Regions from separate parts of the Homo sapiens genome. Here region 2 is linked to region 1. Evidence: promoter capture Hi-C in 16 types of primary human blood cells and fetal thymus (Javierre and others, 2016). All regions are on one chromosome and are shown on one strand. The core of a region is centred on a gene start or on the middle of the fragment in contact, and the rest is flanking DNA. Distances in the headings are between cores, read along the strand shown.

What was found. Contacts are between HindIII fragments. The CHiCAGO score rates a contact against its expected background, and 5 or more counts as called.
Region 2: a contact is called between a fragment that was not itself captured here and the fragment with the promoter of SLITRK2 in region 1, in 1 of 17 cell types (M0 macrophages). The highest score is 6.3, in M0 macrophages.

Annotation. Positions count from the first base shown.
Region 1 is chrX:145,814,291-145,821,330 of GRCh38, forward strand. It overlaps SLITRK2 (SLIT and NTRK like family member 2), which reads left to right and starts at 3,539. Exons shown (of 5, transcript NM_032539.5): 1 at 3,539-3,736; 2 at 6,184-6,246. The HindIII fragment of the contact is 7,249 bases long and covers 1,248-7,040 here.
Region 2 is chrX:147,806,182-147,813,221 of GRCh38, forward strand. No RefSeq gene overlaps it. Among named protein-coding and RNA genes, the nearest start is that of FMR1-AS1, 100 kb to the right of the region's middle. The HindIII fragment of the contact is 5,256 bases long and covers 1,885-7,040 here.

The DNA of each region.
Region 1 (7,040 bases), core at 2,289-4,788:
TTATCCAACTTAAATTAAGATGTTGGTTTCTGACTAAAATCAACCATTTCACCAAGAATGGGAGTAAGGGTAAGTTACTTAAATTTTCTGAGTCTCACTTTCCTCTTTTGTAAAGTCTGGCTAATCATACTGGCCTGTTGAGGATTGTCATGAGAAACATAGAAAACAGATATAAAATATTTTGTATAACTTATTTATTTTAAGAAGTGAGTTAAAAATTTTTTTAGTTTAAGATTTATTTGCACATACATGTACCACCGTTCAATTTTCAAGAGTTCTGTATACATCCCATCCTTACTGACTCCACATAGCAGGTGCCAGTTTTACACATGGGGAACTGAAATTGGTGTAATGCTGTTTTTGTCCCATTGTGAGAAAGTAGCACGGGTGGAATTTGAACCCAGGTCATTGGGCTCCAAGGGCTTGGATATGTATTTGATTAAAAGAAAAACTGCCCTGGGTCTTGGCCCAGCACTATTTCAATCAGGCCAAAATGCCTGCCAAATAATCCAAATAATTGAATTGAATTGAAAAATATCCACCTTTTCAATAACATCAGGAACAAAAGTCTACAATATCCTGTAAACTATAATTACTAATATTAAGGGCATGTCCGCTTTGTTGCGTTTCTTTATTTAGGAATTTGTTCTGTGGCACTCTTCTTTGAAACCTTTGGTTGGAAAGAAACTATGTTCACTGAAAATGCAGCACATTTTGTCTTCTTTTATATGTTTTAAAGCTTTCTAGTTCTGGATAGGTGTGAAGAAGTTGAAAAAGCAACATTCTCAGGTAAATTACGTACTACACAGTAATAGGACATCCTTTACATCATCCTGGAAACATATGCGCTTTTTATCTCACTCATCGCAGGTGAAATTTCTGGTTTTCTTCTAACCTTAGAATGAAATTATAAAAACCCAGGCAAGATTTAGTTTTATTTCTCTGTTTTTCCACTAGTTTTCCAATCGGGATCTCTATGTTGTTTAGTAACACGAACTTCACAATAGAAAGTAGCTTACAGTAAACCAAACCCCCACCACATGCAATTTACCTATATAACAAACTTGCACACGTACACCTGAACCTAAAATAAAAGTTTTTCAAAAAGAAAACAGCACATGGATATAAAGATACATTTACAGTGCTAGTATAAAGAAGAATAATGTGATTTTTATTAATGAACAGAAGTACATTAATATGGTGTCTCTAGTATTCAATTCTATTTGGAAATTTTCCTCTAACACAGAAGCTTTTAGAAAATTCAGCATAAAGCAGCTTTCAAATAAATTGGCATATTTAAATTTTTCACAGACTTCAAACTCTCCTCCATTATAACTGTCTATGCAAAACCCTCTCAGAAAGTTTTATATTGCTCATCAATTTTCGTGTCTGTGCATTCAAAGCACAGCTATCCACCTACTTGAAAATTTTATGCTGACAAAAAGAAAAGTCTGCTCTTTTTAATTTTGTCTTACTATCAGTGTGGTCCCATGTGGAAAGGCAGGCTGCTAAATGCTTTTCGAAGGCTGGTGAACAGGTTAGACTTGCTTACAAGGCTAATTAAAATTGATGCATGCCATCTATTACATGTTACTACTGGATCTAAATAAAGTATCACTTTTCATCATTAATGCCATGTTCCTTCTCTACTCTGTATAGAAGTTTTTGCTTATTTTGTATGTTCCCTTTGGCTACAGACACATCACCCTTCTTAGTAAACTGTCTGAGTTTTTCAGCATGACTGTCTCATTATTTCTGTATTGGAATGGCCTCTTAGCTCTGTGTTTTGCAGTTGTTTATAACATCTACTAAAAGCGACATGAAAAGATGACACAGTCAGAAATACGGTAAAGACAGAAGTAACAGTATTAACTGACCTCATTTAGTTAATAATATGATGTGCTCAGTGCACTGCTTTTAGTCTGTAGCAAACAGCACATTGGATGTTTACACTAATACAGATATTGTAAAAAGAAGAGCAATGCTTCTGGATATATAACCGTACATACACTGCCCACGTGCTTATGTGAGAACTATGTTATTCCGAAGTTGCTTATCTGAATGGTAGGAAGATTTCAAAAAGGCTTTCTCAAGAATGAAATAAAAGGAACAGTAATGACCCTTACAACTCCGAAGATACGATTATAATTCTTCCGACTATTATTAAAGCAAACTCTGTACATCTTCATAATATAAGATTGCCAGTAGTTTTCTTTTTAAAAAGCCCAGCATAATCTCCTTAGAAAACCATTATGAAAGAAAGCCAAGAAGAGAGGACAGGAGAAGCACAAAAGATTCCCACGGGAAGGACAAGAAAAAGGTGGTTGTCAGTGCTGTGAGAACGAGTTGAAAGGCATGGGAAATATGGAAACAGACAAATTCCAATGCAGATCCACTAGCTGGAGAGGTAATTTTGCGTCTAATTTTGCACCTCTCTCCTCGCCTCCCCGTCTGCTCTCCACCATCACGCTTTTCGACAGTAAGAAGGATTTGGGGTTTTGCAGACTCTAGCGGGCATGAAAAGGATAGGGGGTGGCAACGACTTGAATTAATGACGTTCTCCTACAGGATGGAGGGGAAAATGACTTAGTGTCATCAAATGAACTCCCTACTCCTGGCATAAATTTATCAAACTGCAACTTTATCTCGAATACTCTGGAAGAGTAGAGGAGAGGCCCTAGAGAAAGCAAGTCTTGAGGGGAAACGCAATGCTCTTGGCAAAAACCGCACCTCCCTCTTGAACTACACTGACTCTTTTCACAGAGCGCCTTCCTTTAATAGAATCACAACCACCTGGACTACTAATAAGAGGAAGAAGAAAGGAGAAAAGGGAAGGGAGGATGGCAAAAATCACGCTCTAGAAGATCCAGGCAACGTCGTCGTGAAGAATAAAGGGAATCAAAATGGGCACTGGAACGCTGCTAAGGGCTTGCTTTGTTAACACACTTGCACAACTCAAGTTCAGCTCTATCTTATGTTGAAAGTCCTTGTTTACGATCCTCGTAGGAGGTTCTTAAATATCTGCCTGCGAACTCCCAAAGACTGGGCGCTTACTAGTTAGGGGAGGCAGCTGTCCCGGAGGGTGTCCAGCTCGGATGGCTGACTGCTCTTTCACTTGTCGTTAACTTCCACCCAGTAGTCTTAGTCTCCCCTTGGACATGGTACCGACCGTGTGCCATTCTTATTTCACTTGACCGAGCCCGAGCTGCAGCCCAGGGTGGAAGCCGCAAGGGCTGGGCAGAGTTCCAGGCAAGAGGGACCGAGAGGCGTGAGCAGTGCTCCGCAGCGCTTGTCAGAGAAATGGAGCAGCGGCTCCTTTGTGGGCTCTTACATCCCCGTCCTGGGTGCACAGCCCGGATATTTGATCTGTGGGGTGATTGATAAGTGAGGGAGAGGGGGGACGCGATCCCTCCCTCCCTCCTCCCTCCCTCCTCCCTCCTCACTCCCTCCTCCCTCCTCCCTCCCTCCTCCCTCCTCCCTCCCTTCTTCCCCTCTCCTCCCTCCCGCTTTACTTCCCTCCTCCCTCTCGCCTCCCTCCCTCCTTCCTGCAAGAAGCGTTGCCCGTTGGCTAGCTGCTCGGTGGGGATCTGCCTGCCCTGGGGGCGCCGCCCGCGCTCCCCGCGGTGCTCTCGCTCCTGGGCTGCGCCAGTCCGAGGCGGTGCCGGCTCCTTTGCCTCCCCGAGTCGCAGATGCTGCGGGCGCCTCCGGGAAAAGATCTGGGCGGCGCGCTCGCTCGGTAAGTTCTGAGCACTCAGGGACGCGGTGGCGACGCGGCCAGTGAGCCGGCTTTCCTCAGTCCGTTGCCTTTCCCGGCCACCTCTCCTTGCGAGGGGCACCAGCGTGGGGAGGCTGGGCGCCATCCGCGGAGGGCAGCTCGCTGGCGGCCGCCCTCTACCCTCAATCCCCACTGGAGATTCCTCACCCCGGGACCGTCCGCGCGGGCGTGGTCGGGCTCCGCGCCTCGCGCAGCGGGGTGGCACAGGCGGCCAGGGAGGGCCCACGCACCCGGCGCGAGCTAGAAGCCTCCGGTCGGCCTGCAGTGCCCAAGTCCCATGGCGAGGGCAGCCCGAGTGGCCGTCGCGGCTGTAGGTCCGCATGCCGGGCACCGCACCAGGCGTCTAGCAGGTAGGGGCAGGGAAGGTAGGGCTGCGCTGGCGGCCGGTGCCCAGTTACCGGCGATCGGGGACGCTCGGAGACACCTGGTCTCCCGGAAGCGCCCTTCGGAAATGGGATTCGACCCGGCTTGCGGGCGGCGGGTGTTTAGAAGAAGAGGCTGCGGGCAAGCAGTGCCCCCTCTCTGGTTCCCCGGACTCCTCTTAGCCCCCTCGTGGCCTGATGGGCGGCCGGGACGGAGGTGGGCTGTAAGCCCGCCGGCACCCACCGTGTCCTGTGGAAGGCTTGGAGACCTGAGCCAGGCTCTACTCGGTTAGATGCGAGTGAGACAGGCGACGGAGTTCGTCTTTAAGCCTCCCTTGCCTCAGCAAGGAGAGGGAGCGTTTTCCTTATTTTAATGACCGCCTTTCCCTCCCTTGGGGTCCCAGTTCACCCTGAACCTTTCCACAGCCTTAAAAGCCCGCTCTCCCTAGCGGAGTGCTGCGGCAGTTCTTCAGAAGACACGGGGCCAAATGAAACTTACTTAAAGTGGTTATCGCGTTTCAGGCTGATTTGTTCCTAGTAACTACGTTTTGGAAAGCAGCTGTGGACTCTCAAGGACAGGCAGGAACGAAGACCTCCTTAGGGTCCGAGTGTCGCTTCCCACAGTTAGATTACCCATGAATTTCCTTGATTCTGTAGGTCTCAAGAATCTCATGAGCCCCCAACCACCTCCACCTTTCTCTCTGAATCTCTCTCCTGTCTCTGAAATTCTTCGCAAAAATAATCTGTCCTCAAGGAATATTGAAAGCGTCATCAATGTCTTGAAGGAAATTACTGTATCTGAGAACCGAAACTAGTATTTGATGTTTCACTTTCAAATACATTTTTTTTTAATAAAAAGGATACCTTTAAGTAAAACACTACCACTGCTATTTACGTTTAAGTAGATTTTTAATTCATATTAAGCAGTAGTGTGCTTTTTGGAAAGATGATGGACTGGGACTCATAATCCCTGGGTTTTGTTTCTATTTGTAGTTTCTTGAGTAAGTCAGCACTTTCCCTGGTTAAGAAATGACCTCATCTGTAAAATGAACCTGACTTCTAAGGTCTTGTTCGGCTCTCACGTCTTTACTTCAGTTAAATATTGACATAATACATGTTTGTTGAATGAATGACTGAATGAATAAATCTTATTGCTCTAGGAACTATGTGCTTTTAACCTTTGGAAATACATAGAAACAAATGCCTCCTTTGCTAGGAAAGGGAGCTTAATTGTGCTCCCACTGCATCAGACTGCTTCCATCTAATGATGCAATTGCAATACAGGGTGGGAGGCCATCCACAGGGCTGTCCCTCTGCCTCAGAGCTCATCTCAAGTTTGCCCTTCTCTATGGAGAAGGAAAATTTGAGTCTCCAGAAGGAAAGTATTTTGCTAAACGCCAAGCAAGAATTAGAGGGTAAGGGGGCTTCTGATGCCTGGTCCAAGGCTCTTAGAAGAAGAAGAAGGAGAAAGGGAGAAAGCTCAAGAAAATAATGCACAGATCACCAGCTACAGGTGGCCCTAGTGCCTAAGTTTATAAACTACCCCCGCCCTTCCCGGAGAGAAAGGAGCTTGTATAAAGGGAACAATCCTAGAACCTAGGCTTAACAAGGAAGGAGAAGGGGAGAAGCAAGGGTCATTCTGTTCTCAAGTGGTTTGTTGTATCTGTGTGTTTATCTATTCCACATTTGGCCAGGCAGTGGGACTCCGGGAAAGCAAGCTGAAGTGTTTTGTGGGACAGGCACATCATTTGGTCAACTCCTTTTCCCTGGTTGATTCCCTCCTTTTCCTGACCCATCTCCCCCTTCCTACCAGAGGCAACCAAGGCCTTTCCAGGCAACAGCAGACATTATTTACCCCTTGCGAATTGATTCCACAATGGAAGACTCTTGGGTCCAAGGAGCTGTAAGATAATTAAGGAGAAAACAGATAATGAAGGCAAAAATCCAACACCTGGCCATTAGCAATGCTCTGGAAAGGCTATTTAAACCCGCATTGGATATCAGAGCTGGGAGGGCCCATACAGTCTACCTACCTGCCTTTTGCAGATGGACACAGGAAGATCCAGAAGCTAGTGGCACATCTAGCAACAGAGCCAGATCAGAACCCAGGTAAGCTCGGTCTCAGGCCAGGATTCCTTTTCCATCTCCTCTCTTTCTCAGGAGCCAGTCTTCCTGCACCAGCTTCCTCTTTTCTCCTAGCTCCCCTGCCCCTGCAGCCTGGAGGGCTCAACCACCCTTCCTTTGGCTCCCACTCCCAGCTGAGGCTCAGCCTGGCAGTGCTTTTCTGACACCCACTTCTTTTCTCCTTCCTCCAGGCAAGAAGTGCACGTTTAAACCTCATTATCTGGCTAAGTATAAACCTCAGGGAGAAAAGGGGTTTGTTTTTGTTTTTCTCAGTCTATAAGCTAACATTGAGCTGACTTTCAGAGTCCAGGCAAATATGTTTGGTGGGTCACCACCCAGAAAGGAATTCTCTTAGCACTGAATCAGGGCTCTGTATGTAAAGTATAAATCCCCTAAGAGAACTCCTCACCCTCCTACACAGACACATTGGTGCATGCACACACACCCCACTCTCTGCACAGAGAGCATCTGAGCTAGGAGCTGGCAAGTGGGGCACCAGTCCTGTAGCAAAGAGGCACACCACACACACACACACACACACACACACACACTCTCTCTCTCTCTCTCTCTCACTCACACACACACACACACACACACACACACGCTTCTCCCTTGCTTGGGAATCTGGGAGAAGAACCCCCCACCCCCACCCCTGCCCTCCATAGGCATTGTGTAGGTGAGAGAAAGAGGGAGGAGTGAGAGAGAACACACAGAGGGGCCCAAGGAGGTGCCAGGCCATTAGCAGGGCCCCTCCTTGAGAAACCCCTCTGCAGGAGCTT
Region 2 (7,040 bases), core at 3,263-5,762, 2.0 Mb after region 1:
GAATACATCACCTGGGGGATCCAAATGATTCTGCATGAGATCCCTCATGAGGTGGGCTGAGCTAGGGTGGGAAGAGAAATGTGCTATCATCTTCTGACCCAGAGCTCTGAGCAGTCTGAGAGTTCTAAATTGAATCCTGCCCATCAAGACTGCTATGAAGGTATATTTGTCAAGGCAAATAGATAGAACATACAGTCAGCCCTCCACATCCTCAAGTTCCACATCCATGGCTCCAACTAACCACGGATTAAAAATATTTAAAAAAATGGATGGTTGCTTCTGTAGTGAACATTTACAGACGTTTTTCTCCTTTTCATTATTCCTTAAACAATACAGTATAACAACTCTTTACATAACATTCACACTGTATTAGGCATTATAAGTAATGAAGAGATGCTTTAAAGTATACAGGAGGATGCGTGTAGGTTATATGCAAACATTACACCATTTTATATCAGGGATTTGAGCATCCACGGATTTTGGTACCTGCAGGAGTCCTGGAAACAATCCCCATGGATACCAAGGGACTACTGTATTTTATTTAGTACTCTGTTAGCATGATTCAGAACTTTTAAATATTTAGATAAAATGATTCATAGGCTTTCATTTAACCCTTTTCCCAGATTCTACAACTGTCAGGAGTGGGCCTACCCTCATATGCTCAGTATAGATGACTTTCCAAAAATGATATAGAAATGTGATTTTAATTCCAAATGCAATATTTCTTTTCTTCAAATATCTTTCATGTTTGAAATATATATTCAAATCTAAGAAATCTACAAGACTCTGTTATGACCTAAATGTTCGGGGTATGTTTTATGGAAGCCCTAACGAACTAATACAAGCTCTTAGAGGGAGAAATTAAAAATGAAAGTCTTTGGTGTATTGACACTCATATACTCAATATACAAAGAAAAACTGTCTCATCAAAAACAGCATAATTTCCTTCTTTCACATGATCTAAGATTTTCAGTAATGTCATTTGCTCTGCATTCAGCTCCTTTCACTTGGTCTTTACCATTCATTGCCCTCTCTCTTTTGGACAGACAATATTATAACTGCAAGTTACTTGCAGATATTTTCTAGGAAAGGAAAGGAAAGGAGAGGAGAGGAGGGGAGAAAGGAACTTTATAGTTTTAGAGTATTCAATTACTCCACTGCAAAAACTACAATGGTGGCAAGTAGTTAGGTGTACAGTTGATAACCTTTTAGATTCTGTCTTACTTTTGGACCAGGAAGCCATCTGTTACTAGAATCTTTTTGTAATTTAGGTCAAAGAGAACTCTTTAGTCAGCTTTTGTTTCTTTCCCTCTCTTTTGCACAGTTAAAATTCCAAAACATGTCATTCAACACTAGAAATAAGCTTCTGACCTGACTGGATATATCTGTCTGGGTTTTCAGGAACAGAATATCCAAGAGAATTCATAATTTGTTTTGCCACTTTGCTGGTTTCTAGTTCTGAGGTAGATTTAGTGTCAGAGTTTAAACTTTCAGGTGCCATTCTTTCTGCATTACTTGACAGAACAATTCCTAATTAATGCTGTAACCATCACCACTTCTCCATTAATTATTTTTCCTGTCAGATGATTTTCTCTTTTGCATGTGCACACACACACAATCACACCCTAAACAAAACAAGTGTATCCAAAAATAGAGGCAGAGGAGAAAGGAGAGCAGTTGCCAGTCACATAGTCTACCATGTTAGTGGCACTCCCCAGAGTCGTTTGGTCTCCAGTCTGCACCATATGAAGCAGCCTTGGAGAGAAGGAGATGACAGGGAGGAAAAGAAAGTTCAGGAGTTTGAGTTCAGGATTTCTGAGTTGCTGAAAACCTGACACCCTCAGACTAACCAGACAACACAAATGTTAATTCTATCTTATCACAAGCTTAAAATTCAAGGAGTCACAAAAACTTATGATTAATTTAAAAAGACATCTTTACTATGAAACTTTATACTTCAAGTAAGTGTGTATATATCTATCTCATACTCAGTAAGTACATTTACACCGTATTAGACAATTATCTAGCCAATTTAACCAATGAAGAAAACCAAATGTGATGATTTAAATGAAAAAATGTATGTTAGGACCATCATTAATTAATTCATGAACAAATAAGGTAGTGAAAAACTAACTTTGGAGCCCAAAAAACCAGGACTGAAATCTTAGATCATCTATTTAACACCTGTATAGCTTTGGACAAGTCACTTAACCTGAGCATCAGTTTATTATCTGTAAAATGGCAGCAATGATACCAGCTTTGCACAGTTAGGGGGATAGTTTATAGTCCTGTGTATAGGCACTTAATAAACAGTATTTATCCGACATGATTGCATGCTACAGCAAGAGCCACAAGGTATCAGAATGCTAAAGAGGAAAAGGTGTTAGGAGTTAAGTCGCTATGGGGTCTGGTCTATGCTAAGGAGAGCACTAGGCTGCTAAAGCCCCATCACACTGACTTCCTGAGACACAGATCACATCACAAGACCCCTGATTTTACATTAAGTCCTTCCTATGTAGTTTATCCAGGGACCAAGATTATGGCTTTTGGAAACGACTGTGTTTTGAGCTAGGACCAGATGGAGACAGCCAGATTTGGGAGAAGGAGGGTCTCCACAGTGTAGCCCTTCTTACCACCTTCCCTTGGCCATGCGTGCACTTTATTTTTCTGCCACATTGGCCGCATGCTGTTCTCATCACTAGACACCTGGCAACTAGCAGACAACAGACTTTTCTGGAAAGCCAGTCAGTTTGCATTGGTAACACTATCTAGTGGAATTGACAAAGCAGGCTCCCAAAACAATAAATCTTCAGTTGCCTCTAGAGAACAGCCACAGTTTTATGCTCCACTGGAATACATATATGTATATCTTCCTGACATTGACTATTTGTTAACAAAAAAAAAATCCCTAATCAGTCTGGAGCTTCTGAGTATTAGTGGAGAGATGGAATCCCAATTTTCAGTAAAAAGCAAATGGAGTTTAATAGTGGTGTCTCTCTCTGTCTCTCCATCTCTCTCTCTCCCCCCATTTTTAGAAAAAATCTATTTATATTACTTGTCAAAATATAAACTTCCTTGCATAAAACATGGTTGCCAAAGTCTAAAATTTGTTTTCCAATATCAAAAGTTTTGATTCAAACAGCCTAAAATATGAGATGACAACATTGGGAACACAATTGATTAATTGATTTTAAAATTTGGCAACAAAGCAGCAAAATCTTAGAAGCTCTAAAGATCTTTACAATGGACCTTTAGAAGTTATCTGATTCAACTCATATGGTGACTGGATTCCAACTACTTTATCCCAAACTTGGGGTCAGCTTGCTTCCTCATGAGCAACACTCCAGTAATGGGGAAAGCAGTACACTCTGGGACAACCCAGTTGATTAGTGGCAAATGCAGATTGTCATAAAGTTCTTAATTAAACTCAATTACAAAATCAGAACAGTATTATAAGTAGAAAATGTTGCACAAGGGAAACAATAAAGATGTTTATTACAATTCGAAATACATAAATTCCCAAACTTTCTCTAAATGATAATGTTTTTTTTTTACTATTACCAAAAGAAATCTATGGTGATAATATTATTCAAAGTTTTGAGCTACATGGAAAGTGAATATGATAACAGAAAATGTCAAGCGGTTCTAGTTAAATACACTAAGATTAAACGGTGATATGGTCTGGCTCTGCGGCCCCACCAAAATCTCATCTTGAATTGTAACCCTAATTGTAATCCTCACATGTTGGGGGAGGGACCTGGTGGGAGGTGACTGGATCATGGGGGTGGTTCTCATGATAGTGTATGAGTTCTCATGAGATCTGATGGCTTTGTAAGGGACTCTTCCCCCTTTGCTCTGCACTTCTCTCCCCTGCTGCCTTGTGAAGAAAAACATGTTGCTTCCCCTTCCACCATGATTGTAAGTTTCCTGAGGCTTCCTCAGCCAGGCAGAACTGTGAGTCAATGAAACCTCTTTCCTTTTAAATTACCCAGTCTCGGGCAGTTATTTATAGTAAGGTGAGAATGGACTAATACAAATGGGATGGTGTCTCTGAATTCACTACAGAAGAAGACACAAAACTCCTCTGGTTAACAACAGCCTTACTATTTAGTCCCTTGACTTTAACCCCTTCTACATCTTCTAGAAATTTCCCTGCCAATTATCCCATCATTCATTTGTTCAACCCATATTTGTTGAATACCTAAATATGTGCTAGGCATGCTTGTAGTCACCAATGATGTATCAGTGAACAAAACAGACTTTCTAGTGGTATTTTAATCTCATTCTTTTTCACCTGTTGACTCCACATCTGTATCTAGCTTCCACCTGACCTGCTTTTCTTTGAAATCTCAAGAGTTCTTCACACTCACTGCCTCCAAGTCTTCACTTTTCATTTATTCCCCAACCCACTCCTGTCTGCGTATATACTCACTCTTCCTCTTAAACTGCTCTTCCTCCCTCTGTTCACCAATGATTTCATAATTTCCAAACCTAACAGACTTGATCTCTCAACTGCATTTGATGCTGTTCATGGCTTCCCACTTTTTAAAACCCTTAACTCCCTTGCTTTCATGACACGCATCTCTGCTGGTTCTCTTTTTTAAAATCTCCTTTTCCTCTGCCTACTCCTTAAATGTTGATAAATCTCAAGGTTTAACTCTTAGCCAAATGCTCTTCTCACTTTCCACATATTTTCAGGATGATCTCATCCCCTCTTTTGCATTTAACTACTAGGTCAGACCTTTCCTATCTTCAAACCCATTTGCCCAACTGTCTGCTGGACCTCTCTACCTGGATGTCTCACAGGCACTCTCATTACAAATATTCATAATATTCCCCCTAAAAGGTCCCCTCTTTGTTTTCCCAATTTTCATGAATACCGTCACTATTCACCTACATACTCACAGTACAGACTAAGTCTTTGCCTAGGACCGTCCCATTCTTTCAACTTCCAACTCTAACTAGTCAAGTACTAGTGATTTTGCCTTTGAAATTATTCCACAATCTGCACACTCTTCTCAATCCCTGGTACCACTGTTTATTTCATGCCCTCGCCATTGCTTACATGTACTGCTACTGTCCCCTTGTTAGCGTCAATAACCTCTAGCCAAGGACTCCAGAAACGCATCTATAGTTAAACAAGTTGGGTTTATTACTCATTGCAGTGAGGGAGAGCACACACCGTGGAGAAGCATAGGTTATCTTAGTAAGAAGAAGTTAAAAGAACCAGTTATAAGATTTGGGCTTTAGTTGGTCTAAGGAGCAAGACCTCACCTTGGATTGGATACTATCAAGAAATGGGAGCAATTTTATCATTGGGTATCTCAATAAATCTTATCTATATGGAGGACATACTAGAGCAGTGATAAATCTGTAATTGGTAAAGAAGTAACAATCACTCATTTCAGCAGAGAGAGGAAGATATTTGATATATTGTGGGGGGCAGAGTGACCTTGGTTTTGTCTGTGCTGAGACAAAATATGAAGTGGTCTTGTTTTGTTTCACTATATCATGGCCTCAGAGTAACTGTGTGGGGTGTTGGGGTTCTGTGGGGTTTTAAAATGTCCAACAGGAGAATAACATGGCCTAGCTGTGAGTGCTAAGCCAGTTTCTAGATATCAGGGGTTGCGTTTTAATTTTTTTTCTATCTCATTGGTATCTCTGTTTTAATTCTTGTCCTTTTCTGATTCACCTTCCACACTTCAGCCAAGAGAACCCCAGCTAAACCACAAATGATTTTATCATGTCAAAATTTTTTCATGAAGTCTCTGCTTAACCCCTCGTCCAGGTGCAACCCCTGCTTCCTTTGAAAGAGCATGTTGTCACTGCCATCCTGAAGGCACATATATTTTGCTTTGTTACATTGTGATTATGTTTGACTCAGTGCACTCCTTCTAAGTTCTCAATATGATGAAAGACATCTGTCAGTTACTGCCTGAAAGTCACACCAGTTTGGTTGAGATCATGAGAATGCAGGCTATAGTTGTACCACTTATAAATCACCATAAATTTTAAAGACTGATGTATTCAGATCAAAGACCAGTAGATGGTGTTAAATCATCATCAAAGGCATTTTTGCTTATTAAGTGCACATTTCACATGATGCTAAGAGAAAAATTAATCAGATTGAGCCAGAAAACTCATCTCTATCTTCTGGAAATCCACAGCATATTCAAGGATAAGAAATCTAGACCAAGACACACATATTACGAGTAGGAATTCAGCAAATAAAATATTAAAATTATGCATTATGTTATGTTCACACTGAGGAAATAATGAGTAAAGAGTAGTGGCAGGGAAATTAAAAAATACAAGCCTTTTGTATCGGAGGACAAGTAACCATCAACCTACCTTTTTTCTTTTAAGGAGTGATGAGACCTTTGTTAACATCCAGCAGACAGGCCAGTGTTTGGGACCAACAGGCCAATGGTCCAGTGTTCAGGCAGGCAACAAGGGAAATGTGGGCAGGTGAGCATGGGCCAGGCAGGTAGGCAGCCAGCAAGCAAGAGAGGTGCAGCTGGAGGCTTCCCTGTGAGAGCTGAGGAATCCCTTCAGAACTCCATGTCCACCATGTGGGAAAATGGCCTGCCTGAGTCAGGCTGGCCTTTTTTTGTAACTGGATATCATATAATGCAAATATAGAAGAGGATCACGAGTTTGTGGATCCACTCCTTCCAGACTAAGGAAGAATTGTTGTTTGATGGCATCCTCTGCAGTTGATCCTCAAACTGCAGCAGCTTGGTGAGGAGGTTGGCCTTGTCACTGTCAAATTGGAGTGAACAGCTCAAAAAGGCCCTGGATCACAGAAATTTCAGAAGACAGTATCAAAGAAAATGATCAAATGGTAGAAAATAGATTCAATTGGATTCAATAAATATAGATCCTCTATCGTGTCCATGGCACTGTATTATGTTCTAAAAAAAATGTAATAAGAAAGGCAAAGTTCTGGTCCTCCAGGAGTTTACAATCTACTAGAAGGAGTATGACAAGCACACCAACAGCCGCCAGACAAAGTTTGATACAATGCATGTCAGCTAAGA